Regions from separate parts of the Homo sapiens genome. Here region 1 is linked to region 2. The links are contacts of gene promoters, found by promoter capture Hi-C in human tissues and cell types (Jung and others, 2019). All regions are on one chromosome and are shown on one strand. Each heading gives the region's core, a stretch centred on a gene start or on the middle of the fragment in contact. The rest is flanking DNA. Distances are from core to core; before and after follow the strand shown.

Region 1 (6,343 bases), core at 990-3,489, 1.1 Mb after region 2:
AGAGGCCTGCTACATAACTCCCCAAAAATTGAAAAAATCCTTTTTCTAAAGTTAGAAACAAAAAAAGAGAGAGTCAGCTGGCGAAGCCAATAGAGGACTAAAATTACCAACATTGAGCTGTAATACGATGTCCACTTCCCAAATTGTGAAATGACTCATATATGCTTGACATGTGCAGGTCTATTATATGGTATAATGTGTCTGAATACTTCATATAAGCTAGGTCATCATCTAATTATGTTATGAATGAGCATTATATTAATGAGTTTCACCTTAAATATTTTCTCATGTGTGAATTTTTTTTGAAAACCTGTATCTTAAAATAAGAAAAATGTCTTCTTTCTGTATGTGTCAGGCTCTAGGTCTCAAGAGGAGAGGACATTATTCGATCTTGTCCTCTCTTTTTCCTCTAACCCCTTTCCCTCATCGCCCCTGTTAGGAGGCCCCTCTTAGAAGTACGACCTGTTTTCTCTGAGTTAGAGAAGGAGTCCAACCAAAGGTCTCCCATGTCTAAGTGTGAGCACTTTGGCATTGCAGAGTCCTGTTCATAACCTGGGTTTCATTAGGGCCAGAATTTACTTTTGTGTGGAGGAGCAAAAGGGAGAGATATTCTGAGAAAAATAAGAGCAAAGGAATACATTAACCTTATGGGAATTTGCCTACTGATAAATGAGAAGAGCTTACAGGCAAAAAAAAAAAAAAAAAATGGTACAATCAATCAAAATATGGAGTCACATGAAAAAAATCAATCAATTACAAAAAAATTAAGGCAACTTTTCAGACTTCTCGTTCCACCCCCAAATCATTATAAGAGGTTCTGGAAAAGAGATTCACACATGGTCTCAAAAGGCCATTTGATTCTAATAGCAGTTTGAGATTCTGATAGAAAGTATTACTTATTTTACTTCAAATATGGTAGAAACATGTGACCGTTAGAACTCTTAGGATTGCCCTTTGGGCCTCAATTTTAGAACAACAGAACAACTAAAAGGGATATGAAATCACTATGATAGTTAAGCTATCTTATTAGCTCCCTGGTTTTATATTCAAAACAATTTCTTCTGGCTAAAGAAGGAGAATCAAGAAAATTCTTGCTAACCATTGGGCACGTCTGTAGAAATGCACAGCTGTACCAGCTCCAAGATCAATAAAGCTTACTTACAAAGTGGCAGCCTCTTAACAGGAATAACTACATAAGAATAAAATATTCTGGTGACAGTATATGTTAAAACTTCTGAGTAAAGTTTGTTCTTTTGGTTTTGATTTGTATTTTGAGCTCTTACATATGTCAATACTTTCCAAAGTAAAATGATTAAATATATAAGTCCTATGTCTCCCTCTCATGGTCAGATATGTTCTTGCTATAATATATTTCAGATGAAAATTTATAATGAAGTAATTTATAAGGGTTGAAGACTTAAAGCCTGAAAATGAGCTTCAAAAAATAAAACATTTGACAAGATAGTGCTTTGCCAATTTTCTTGACAAAAAGCACCATTCAGCAGATGTCAATATTCAAACAATGTCTTACTTATGGTGTTGGAGGCCAAGGAAAAAGCAACTTCTTTAGGCCTGAGTCTTCTAATATGTGAAAACAACGTCCACAGTTGTCACTGTCGTGGCTTTAGCAGAACTGCATTTAAGAGAAGGGTTGTGGTGGATGGGGATGGGTGGGCTAGGAAAACAAGGCAGGAGAAGAAAATATAACGGAAGAGAGAGTGCAACAAACAGATGGGGGTGGCGAGAGACTGACTTGGGGAGAGAAAATGAGACAGGAAGAGAAAAAGATGTCAGTGGAGGGGCTAGGAAGAGAAAGATAGGAGGAGAAAGAGACAGACACAAGGAGTAAAAGATGGAGGAGTAGAGAAAAAGAGGCTGGAAGGAGAGGAAAAAGGTGGGTATGGCCTGAATGTGTGCCCCCAAAATTCCTTTGTTGAAACCTAATCCTCACGGCAATGGTACTAACAGGGTGGGGACTTTGGGAGGTGACTAGGCCATCAGGGTGGAGCGCTTATGAATGCAATTCATGCCCTTATAAAAGAGAATCAAGGGAGCTCCCTGGCCCTTTTCACCACATGTGGACAGAAAAACAAGGCACCATCTAGGAAGCCCTCACCAGACACTAAATCTGCTGATGCCTTGATCATGGGCTTCTAGACTTAGAACTCTGAGCAATAATTTTTTTTTAATAAAGTACCCAGTCTCAGGTATTTTGTTATAGCAGCTAGAACAGACTAAGGCAGTGGAGGAGATAAGAGACAGGGAGAGAGAGAGAGGTGGAAGAGATGGAGAGACAGAGACAGACATACCAAGTTGGAGAGGAAGGGGAGGATAAAGAAAGAGAAAGGGAGAGGGTGAAGGGGAGGACACCGAGAAAGAGAAAATGGGAGAGAAAGGGAGACAGACACATGGAACAAGGAAAGAGGGGAAAGAGAGAGCCAGGAAGAGGCAGGAGGAGAGAGAAGATGAGAGGGAAAAAGAATGATAGGAGGTACAGCCAGGGAGACTAGGAGAGGGAGAGGGAAGGACAGCAAGAAGAAAGAGTAAGGCCTCGAAAAAGCATGTGTGGCTGACATAGAAAATGAGCCACATACAGGCAGCAGGTGACAGCTCATCAGAGACAGAGCAAGACAGACACCAAAAATAAGAGAGAGACAGAGGACAGCAAATGGAGACACAGATGACCGAGCACAGGACAGACAGAGATGTGGATAGAGAGCTATGGAAATGGAGGCAGAAGGAGACAGTGATAGAGCCCAAAACCATCCAATATATTTTGCTTGTTTTATTTACTTATGTTTTGAAATGGAGTCTCACTCTGTCACCCAGGCTGGAATGCAGTGGCGTGATCTCAGCTCACTGCAACCTCTGTCTCCTGGGTTCAAGCAATTCTCCTGCCTCTGCCTCCCAAGTAGCTGAAATTACAGGCATGCGCCACCATGCCCAGCTAATTTTTGTATTTTTAGTAGAGACAGGGTTTTACCATGTTGTTCAGGCTGGTCTCGAACTCCTGACCTCAGGTGATTCACCCACCTTGGCCTCCCAAAGTGCTGGGATTACAGGCATGAGCCACCGCACCTGGCCCCATTTTGCTGTTTTAAAATAGCAAATTGACTAAATAAAGAAAATATACTCTGCTTTTGCCATACAGCAAGTTGGCAGGTCAGGCAAATGCTGAATTTTATCCTATGTGCAAGGTGTCTGTTTGAAGTTACTCTATGGACAGACAGTTATTGGAAATGGCTTTAGGGTTGAGTAACATTACCCACAGATCAAAATTGAATAATTTTAGTAAAATATTTCAAAATCTTTGCAAAATTATGCTTTTAATAAAGATGTGAAGTTATAGTTAAATATAACAAGGAAAAATTAAGTGGTTCCTATTAGCAACACAAATTGATAGACGTTACATATACATGGCACAGCCCTCACTCCAATGCCACCAGCCAGAAATGGCAGGGCTATAGTGATCATGATAATTAAAAAGTGTAGGACATTACCTCAAATGCTGATCTTAAAGAACTGAACTGGACTAATATTTCACAGGTGTTTTCCTTTGGTTATTTATCAGTAAACAAATATAAATTCTATAACTTCTCTCAAAAGGAAATTCTGCTTTTTGAGGTTTAAAAACATCAGAGCAGTGAAGTCAATTGGTGTGACACCTACCATTACAAGGAGGCAGTTGACAGGCTCTGACCGACTCAGGCTTTTCACCATCACAGTGGTCCCCAGCCCTGCAGAGGACCTGCCTCACCTCCGTTCCTTCACCGCAGGTCACTGAACACTGCAGAGACAAAGGCTGTGGTTACAGACATTTATTGCACCAAGACCATGCACATACACACACACACACACACACACACACACACACACACACACACACAAAGACACAGAGATCTGGAGTGGGTTCTCTATTAAGTAATGCTGCACAGTGGTTTTGAAGACAGATACTACTGAGTTTATATTCTGACTCCATTATTTACCAGCCTGGGAGCATTGTTTTTTCTACATAAGATTCACCTTCCTTATCTAGTGGAAAGCTGGGATAATAATACCTGTCTTATAAGATTGTTTTAGGACTAAATGAAGGCAAAGGAACAAAGTGTATAAAGCAGTAACAAAATTCCTGACACCTAGTAAGCATATCATATGAAAGAAGCCATGATTAATAACAATGGTAACATCTGCTGTAGTTTCTAAATACAATGTTGATGATGTCTGTTCTCAGGGACCCAATCATAGTATTGACAGTCCTCACTTCTTTCTTACAGATAGCAGAATTTACTGATAAGTTGCCTTGGATGGTTAATTCAACATCCTTGGAACTACTATTTCTCTGTGCTCTTAAGTTCATTTCTCTAATGAAAAGGTTTACTGCTCTAAAACTAAGCTCAGAAAGTTCCATGTAATGGCCCTAGGAAGGTGCTGTGGAGGAGGGACTTCTACTGAGACTTTGATATGTGTTATCATTATCATCCTATGTGGGTGACCTGCACTTGTACTATGGTTTGAATGTCCCCTCCAAAACTCAGGTTGAAATTTAACTGCCATTGTAACAATGTTGAGAGGGACCTTTAAGAGGTGGGACCTTTCTGAGGTGATTTATGGGCATGGGTTAATGCTATTATCTTGGGAATGGGTTAGTTATTGCAGGAATGGGCTACTGATAGAAGGATCCTCTGTGTCTCTCTTGCATGCCTCCTTGCCATGTGATGCCTTCAGCTACAGGAAGACCCTCTCCAGATGCCAGTGCCATACTCTTGGACTCTGCAGCCTCCAGAACCATATGCCAAATAAACTTTTGTTCTTTATAAATTACCCAATCTGTGGAATTCTGTTAAAGCAGCAAGAAATAGATAAGACAACTTGCTTGTTTCTTCCTTTCTGGGCTTATTCTCCACTTACTCTTTAGTCTTCTGTCTGCTTTTTCATGCCCTTTCCTCCTATAAACTATTCTCCTATGACCCCAAGATTTCTTATTTTGAGTCTTTAGAAATATCTAAGACAGGTGGTAATAGCTGACAATGCAACATTGAGTCAGCCAATTAGCAAACAAACATCATCTGGACAGGTATGCTAGGCACTAGCTGAGTGCTGAGGAAACAAGGCATACTATTTTTGAGAAATGTGTGTACTAGTGGCAAATATAGATTCAAGAATCAGAGTTATAATACTCTGTCATGAACAGCATGGTAAAGTTAAGTTGTACTGCATTTCAGATATACAGGAGGAACTGCCAGGAAAGGTACCACCTGGAAGGTGGTCATTTGGACTACGGAGATGAGGTTTGGTGGAGAAGGAGAGATTATCAGGTAGGAGGAGGGGGAGTACAAGTCAGCTGAAAGGTAGGAGGCTCAAACAAGCATGGTCTGTTTGGAACAGTGTGAAGTTTACTCGAACTGGGACAAAGAGTTGGAATGAAGAAAGAATAAGAGGAGTTAGTGCAGTGCCAAATGGTGCTGGGCCCTGCATTCAATATCAGGGGTTTGGAATTTATACTGAAGGAATAGGGAAGTCAACAAAAATATTAGACAAAAGAACAGTCATCTTTCAGACTTCTTCTCTATGTTATGAAACACATAAACATGGTTTGCCCCTAACATGTACTGTCTTAAAGCATTAATTTTTCCTAACACCTCCAGGTAATTACAAAATATGCAGTAGTTTCTCAGTTCACACAAAGCCTAACTGATGTTTAAGCCAAATTAAAATATCTACACATGCTTACACACACACTTTACTTATGCATGCACGGAATTCACACACCTACCTCACTCCAGGGTCCTGTTTTCCACTGTGCAGGGCAGGGCACTCTGTTACAGGGCCGGCGGCTCTCGGGACGGTCACCCATGCAGTATTTGCTGTGCACAGAGCGGTTGGTGCCATCAAGGAGTGGCTGAAGGCAGCGTACAGTGCGAAGCTGATAGCCAGAACTTCCACAGGTTTTGGTGCAGTGTTCCCATTCTTCTGCTACCCAGCTGTGGGTGCGGGGATTTAATATTGCAATTATCACTGGTATGTATAGTGTACACATTTCTACCTGCAAAGCCTAGACTTTTCTGCTCTCTAAGTGACTTGCAACCTAGTGGGCACACTGCAGTTCAGGAAGTGGTTTCAGAAAGATGGATATAATGGATAACTTTTTAACAATAGTAGGCTGAAACTTTTATTTTATTATTATTATACTTTAAGTTTTAGGGTACATGTGCACAATGTGCAGGTTAGTTACATATGTATACATGTGCCATGCTGGTGTGCTGCACCCATTAACTCATCATTTAGCATTAGGTATATCTTCTAATACTATCCCTCCCCCTCCCCCCACCCCACAACAGTCCCC
Region 2 (6,104 bases), core at 3,488-5,987:
CCTGTCTCCAAGCAATGGAACAGCTGAATCCGCATGACTTGGTCCATAGGCCAAAAAGGAGGAACAGCTTTTAAGTGGCCTGCTATGTAGGCCCATTCAATTCCCAAGGAGGCAGGAAGCCAGTGGGATACAAAGGAAAAAACACCTTTCTGTGTCTGGGAAGTTGCTAGTCTGATCACGTGTATGTACATTTCACACACACACACACACACACACACACACTCTCTCTCACATTATGAGAGTCCAAGGGCCCCAAGAGTCTGTTCTGATAGAGAAGTCTAACATAATTCTCTACCACCGTACCTAAAACCAGACCAATCTTTTAAATCAGGGGCCTGGGTTTTAGTGGCTTAGTAGCTCATTTTAAGTTTTCCTTCTCCTTCCAAACAGAGAGGTCTGTGTCCTGTGTTATGCTGATCTATGGGAGAATTCCTGCAGGAGGAAGGGGCTGAAACATTGGCCTAAGGTTATTAAACAGAGCTTTCGTAATAAATATGTTGATACCATTTCTGAAAGATTTGCATATTTCTCTATCACATATTGTTCAATTTTATTAGAGGAAATCATTCTGGTATCCTGTTGGAATTGCTGAATTTTGGGGTATTATCTTAAGCTCCTTGATTTTAATGCTGTGGGAACTGAGACTCAGATTGAATAACCTGCCTTCCTTGACATTAACTGAGATAAGCTCCTGTTTTCAGAAGTTAGAACCCTCTACTGATAGTTGACTTTAGGCATGTGTTTTAAAAACGACAGTTGGATATGGTTGAGAGCTCAGTTGCTAAAGCTGTGAAGCAACTTGGGACACACGTTTAACCAAATAAAATTATTTTCCCCAGCTCATGCTGTGCTGACAGCTTCCAAAAACTGTGTTCACCTTCATTCTCTCCTCATAAAAAGGGGCTACAGGTATTTTTAAACCTGGGGTTTGAGGAAGAGAATGTTAATTATAAATCTAGATTAGTTGAATGTATTCAAGAATTTGCCAGACTGAATATGAATACTCTTGGAGTGTAAGTGAAACAAAAATGAGGCCTTTGGTGACCTATTATCTATCGATCTATATCTATCTATCTTTCATCCCAGATTGGTTTTAGAATGAGAAGAACAAAAGTTGCTTTTTCTCATTTCTTACTCTTACACAATGAAGTGGTTAACAAAATTGATACAGAGTGACAACTTTAATGATCATTCTGTTGCAAACAACTACAAGTCCAAACAAATATCAGCACAAAGAAAATCTCTATTCTGTGTAGCAACATGTTGGTCAGACTTTCGCCAATGAACCACCTATTTAAAAAGGACTTGATATTGACAAACATCTCTGATCAGTCTTTGACGTTTATAGTAACAAGCTATAATGTTATCTCCTACCACCTTTCTGTTTAGGCCCCAATATGAAATGCCTATGAATGTTATAATTTTGTATAACTCCAGGAGAAACATCCAACAATATTTTTCACCTTTTTTCCCAATAGTGAAAAAATCCAAATATAATAGTTATATTTATGGATTCTGCTCTTTGTTGAACACAGTGCTTTACAGACAACATATGGTGACAAGCCATCACTCTTCCTATTTTATGTAATGAGGAAACTTAAATACAGAGTCTTTAAGGACCTAGTCAGTCACACAAATACTGAGAAAATTCTATGCTAATAATCCTATCTGCAGGTCACATCGGCACCTTACTTTCAATAATCAACGCAGGGCCGATCAATTGCATTATTCTACTACATACAACTTCTTGTTTTAGAATCAAAGAATGTCATGCCTATAAGCGACCAGAAATGCCTGGACTACCTATTCGAAAACTTTCATCTTCATTCTTCTTAGAGACATTATGTCGTCATCACCTGCTGCCACTAGATGGTGCTTGTCATCGAAACAAAGGTCCTTCCTCCTTTCTGTTTTCTTTAGATGCCTATTAGGACCTTGGATGATACGAAAGAAATTTGATTAATAAGCTAAGTACTGGGCTGGTATTCTAAGAAGTCCTTTAGTACAGAGAGTTGTTGATTAAAAAGTAAACAAATCATTATCAGTAAAGCTTACTTACACCATTTTTCTAATTCCATCAGTTTTTCTGCTCATTCTTCTTGTCACCAAGCTGTGTGAACCCCAAGACAAAAAGAACTAATAAATCTTTCTTTGTGCTTATGAGAATCAAGAGACATGGCACAAGTTTTAGGAGAGGTGAACAAAAATCTCAGGATTCATTGTTATCACCCGGAAAAGCAATCGAAAGTGATCACATGCAGAGTTTATAAGAAAAATTAATCAATGACCTTTCAAAGGAAAACACGTATATCTCAACTACTGGACACTAATCAATAGGAAAGGAAATAGAACACTCTTTTAATTGTGGGATAGCAAACATCAAGTAATGAAAATGATAACAGAGGTTGTCAACGCTTTGCCAAAGACTCTTTTTCTCATTAATTTAAGACACATACCAAATCTCACCTCTATAGTACTCTCATTGTCTCCCTGCCTCCCACCCCACAAACCAACTTTATGCTCCTTTTAGGGTAAATTCTTGCCAATCTTTGTACTGAAATGCCTTCAGGAGTTACCTATTTAACTTACGTGAAGGAAAGTTTGATATATTTTGCAGCAGAATGCTTGAAAAATGTGTTTCTTGGACTTTTTCTTTCTTATTCACCAGCACTGAGTGTTCATGGCTGCTTCACGATTATAATGAGAAATTGCCAGCTATGTTGAAATACATAATCCACAGTGTGAAAAACTGCTGAACAGCAATGGCAAATTTTTAATACAAAAGTGACTTCCCTTTGCCTGTTAGCTTACTTTGCGGTTGCTGATTCTTGCTAACTGCCTGCTCAGGGAGTGAAAGTTAATTTTAACATTAGCCTAGAAACAGAACATAATCATTTAGGTGAAAACTTTAAAGCTAAATTTTTGTTTTATCTTTGGTTTTGAGTTTCCCATGAAAAATTCCCAGTGATATATCACTGCACTGGGTTATGTAGAATGTGTGAACATATATGTGAGCCAGATGTGACAACAGACACATGACAGTACATTTTAATTTCAGACATCAGATTGGCGTGTTTCCTTGTGCCTTCTGAGCATTAACTAAGGATTTTAAAGATAGAAACTTTTTAAAAGACACAGGCTCCATACCTGCTTTCCAAGCACTGGTGAGGCACCATGGATCTCTGGATCTCTTCCAGTTTTGAATACTAGAAAGAAAAGCCTCTGTCCTCAAATTATTTCCTCCCTACCCTCATTTTTTTTTTCTCTTGGAGGTCCTATAAGCTATAGCTTTGTATTGAAGAAATACTGGGGACCAGGAGCAGTTGGTATGTTAAATTATTTCTCTTGAGCTTTATGCATTTTGGTGGCTACTGTTGAAAACACAGTTTGGTCAGTGATGTCCACATACACATTACATATAATATGTATTACTAGAAAATGATATACACTTGCATGATATACCATGTGGTTGCAATCCATTAAGTGACTACTCTCTAGCAGTACCCAGAACAATAGATGGTGTGTCTGTGCTGACAGTCTGTTCATATCTTAATGGTTTACTTATGATTCAATAGTTTACCAATGGCAATGGTGCTGGATCACTGATATATTATTTGCTTGGCAAAGAGTACTTGAACCTCATTATTAGACTTAGGAACAGAATAAATACAAATAATCACTTTGCTAAGGCTGTTTTCCTAACTCCCAAGGAAGACAGAAAGGCATCAGTGACATAAGTGAAGGACACAGTTGACAACCACGTTATCTTCAGACATCTTTTGTTAAAGGTGAACAATTACTTAATACTGTGTTATGGCAGCACTCTATACGCCCCAAGTTTTATAAAGTAGAGTCAAGAGTGATCTGAGCTGGGAAACTCACGCAATTTTAGTTCTGCATGAAAGCACAGGCTCTCCCCACTGGGGAACTCTTTTGAGTAGGACAAAAAGCTGGACCTAGGACCCAGCCCAGGGCGTGAGAGAAAAGGAACCTGGGAGGCAAGAGCGGCCGGTCCGGAGCCGGGTCCTCCGCCAGCTCCGGGCGGGCGCTGCGCACAGAGCCCAAGCCCCCGGCGGAGGCGGCGCGGCTCGAGGCCCCTCCCCGCCGCCGATGCCCGGGCGGCTGACGCCGAGCAGCGGCCCGGAGCGGTGGGGGCCGGGCTGGCGGGCACGAGCGAGGGCAGGGCAGGGGGCCGGCCGAGGCCACTTACGGCTTTAAATATGGATCGCAGGCTCGCGCTCGCGGCACAGCCTCCGCCGCGGCCGCCTTCCGTGAGCCCCCGCACCCCGGCTTGCTCCCGAGGGGCGCCTGGGCTGGGCTCCACTGCTGCAGTGTTAGTTACTAGCAGGAACATCAGAGATCCCCATAAATATGCAGGAGCTGCAGGAGGCAAAGTAGAGTAGACGCCCGCGCTCTTACACACTCGCTCGCCGCGCACCACACAGGCTGTGTAGACATCCCCCCGCGCCACCTTTCCCCTTTCCTCGCGGGCCGTTCAGGTTGCAGTCCTGCCTGCTCCGAAGACCCTCCCGCCCCAGCGCCTTTGCCCCGCTCTCCCGCGCTCGCCTCTCTCCGGAGCGCGCACCCACCCAGGCGGCAAAGTTGTGACTACTTGGGCGCGGGTGACTGGCGCCCCGCTCGCTCCGCGCCCGGCGCAGACAACTTCCCGCGGCTCGGCCCCGCCGCGTCCCGGGCTCGCGCCTCCAGGGATTCCGCGGCCCCCCAGCCTCCAACCCCGGCGGCGCGCCGGGCAGCGCTTCGGTGGCGGCGGCGGCCGCGGTGGCAGCGAAGGCGGCGGCGGCGGCGGCAGTGGCAGTGGCCGCTGCAGCCCCACACTCCGCCGCCAAACTGGAGGAGCGACGGAAGCCAGACCCCAGGAGGTGAGCGCCCGGCCCCGGCAGCTGCCGGGAGGGTCGATGGGGTCCCTCGCTCCAAGGCGGAGGCGGGCGCGGGCCCGGGGGCCGATTCCGTAGGGCGCGCAGGCGGCCTCAGCGCGCTCCTGGGAGGGAGAGAGAGGTCAATTGCGGGCCGGGCATCCCCTGAGCTGGGCGCGGGCGGTGTGTGGAGGCTGCTTCCGCGGAAAAGTATTTTTTTTCCTTCTTAGGGTTTAGAGGAAGAGTTTGGGTGGTCTGCTTCTCCCTCACTGCTAAGTCCCCTGCGCGCAACTGGGCGTCTTTACGAGGACTGCGGGGCCAGTTCTGCGGCGGGCTGGGCTCGGGCTCAGTGACACGTGTGTTGCTGTGAGCCTGGGTGGTCGCCCTGTGACCAGGCACCTGCTTGAGAGGAACACATCCCTAAACCCATCACAGGGGGAGATTTGGGGACTCTTGGTGCTACCGAGGCCGCGGCCCCCACTTCACTGCCAGCTCCAGGACGGAGCATTTACATCTCTCCCTGGCACGCCAAAGGCGGGGGGTGAGTCAGGCAGATTCTCTGCAAGTGGCACACACACATTTATTTGCAATGGATTTGGCTAGGGGAGGCATAGGTTAAACTGGAATTTCTCTTGGCCAGCGACAACGGAGCTCTCCCTCAGGTACTGGGCAGCATGTGAGTCTTGGCAAAGAGAGGTGATTTCTTTTTTCTTAAGTGCATTTTACTCAGCCGTTGCCAGTCCGTTAATAAGTCACCAGAGGAAGGCAGGACCTGGGAACTACATCAGCAAACCGCAGCAAGCACCATAAAGACAAAAGTTCTTATAGAACAAAAAGAAAAACTTGAACTTGACGTGAAAGATGGAGGAAGCAGTTCTACCTCTCTTCTATCACTTTTTTCAGCGCCCTGTAAAACTGTTTTTTTCTATCCTTCCTTCCCTCTCAAGGCCCTACCTTCTCAGCATAATTGATCGCAGCAAGCTCTTTCCAACTTGACACTGAAGAGCAGCGACCCCTTTGGCTTACCCTCCCCATTTCTTTTCCTGGTTCGCTTCAGTGCCCTGGAAAGTTGCTCCTAATGAGAAATCAAGAACACTGGGCTGTACTAAACGCTCATTGTCTCAAATCCTGCAGCAGTTCCTTTCCTAAGAGACACTGTGTTGTACTGTATTTCTCTTTTTTCTTGTATCTTGGGACTTGGAGTTGTAATACTACCTGAATTAAATTAAT

Evidence for each region. The method cuts DNA at HindIII sites, captures the fragments that hold promoters and counts their contacts. A contact is called where the count stands out against the background at its distance.
Region 1: a fragment that was not itself captured here is called in contact with the fragment with the promoter of SLC4A4 in region 2 in 1 of the 25 tissues and cell types used here (lymphoblastoid cells).

What each region holds. Positions count from the first base shown.
Region 1 is chr4:72,285,082-72,291,424 of GRCh38, forward strand. ADAMTS3 (ADAM metallopeptidase with thrombospondin type 1 motif 3) reads right to left here. Exons shown (of 22, transcript NM_014243.3): 20 at 5,774-5,981; 21 at 3,670-3,787. Among named protein-coding and RNA genes, the nearest start is that of NPFFR2, 260 kb to the left of the region's middle. The HindIII fragment of the contact is 7,779 bases long and covers 1-6,129 here.
Region 2 is chr4:71,182,522-71,188,625 of GRCh38, forward strand. SLC4A4 (solute carrier family 4 member 4) reads left to right here and starts at 4,738. Exons shown (of 26, transcript NM_001098484.3): 1 at 4,738-4,880. It overlaps LOC124900712 (a long non-coding RNA gene), which reads right to left and starts at 4,003. Exons shown (of 2, transcript XR_007058133.1): 1 at 2,060-4,003; 2 at 1,167-1,934. The HindIII fragment of the contact is 14,418 bases long and covers 570-6,104 here.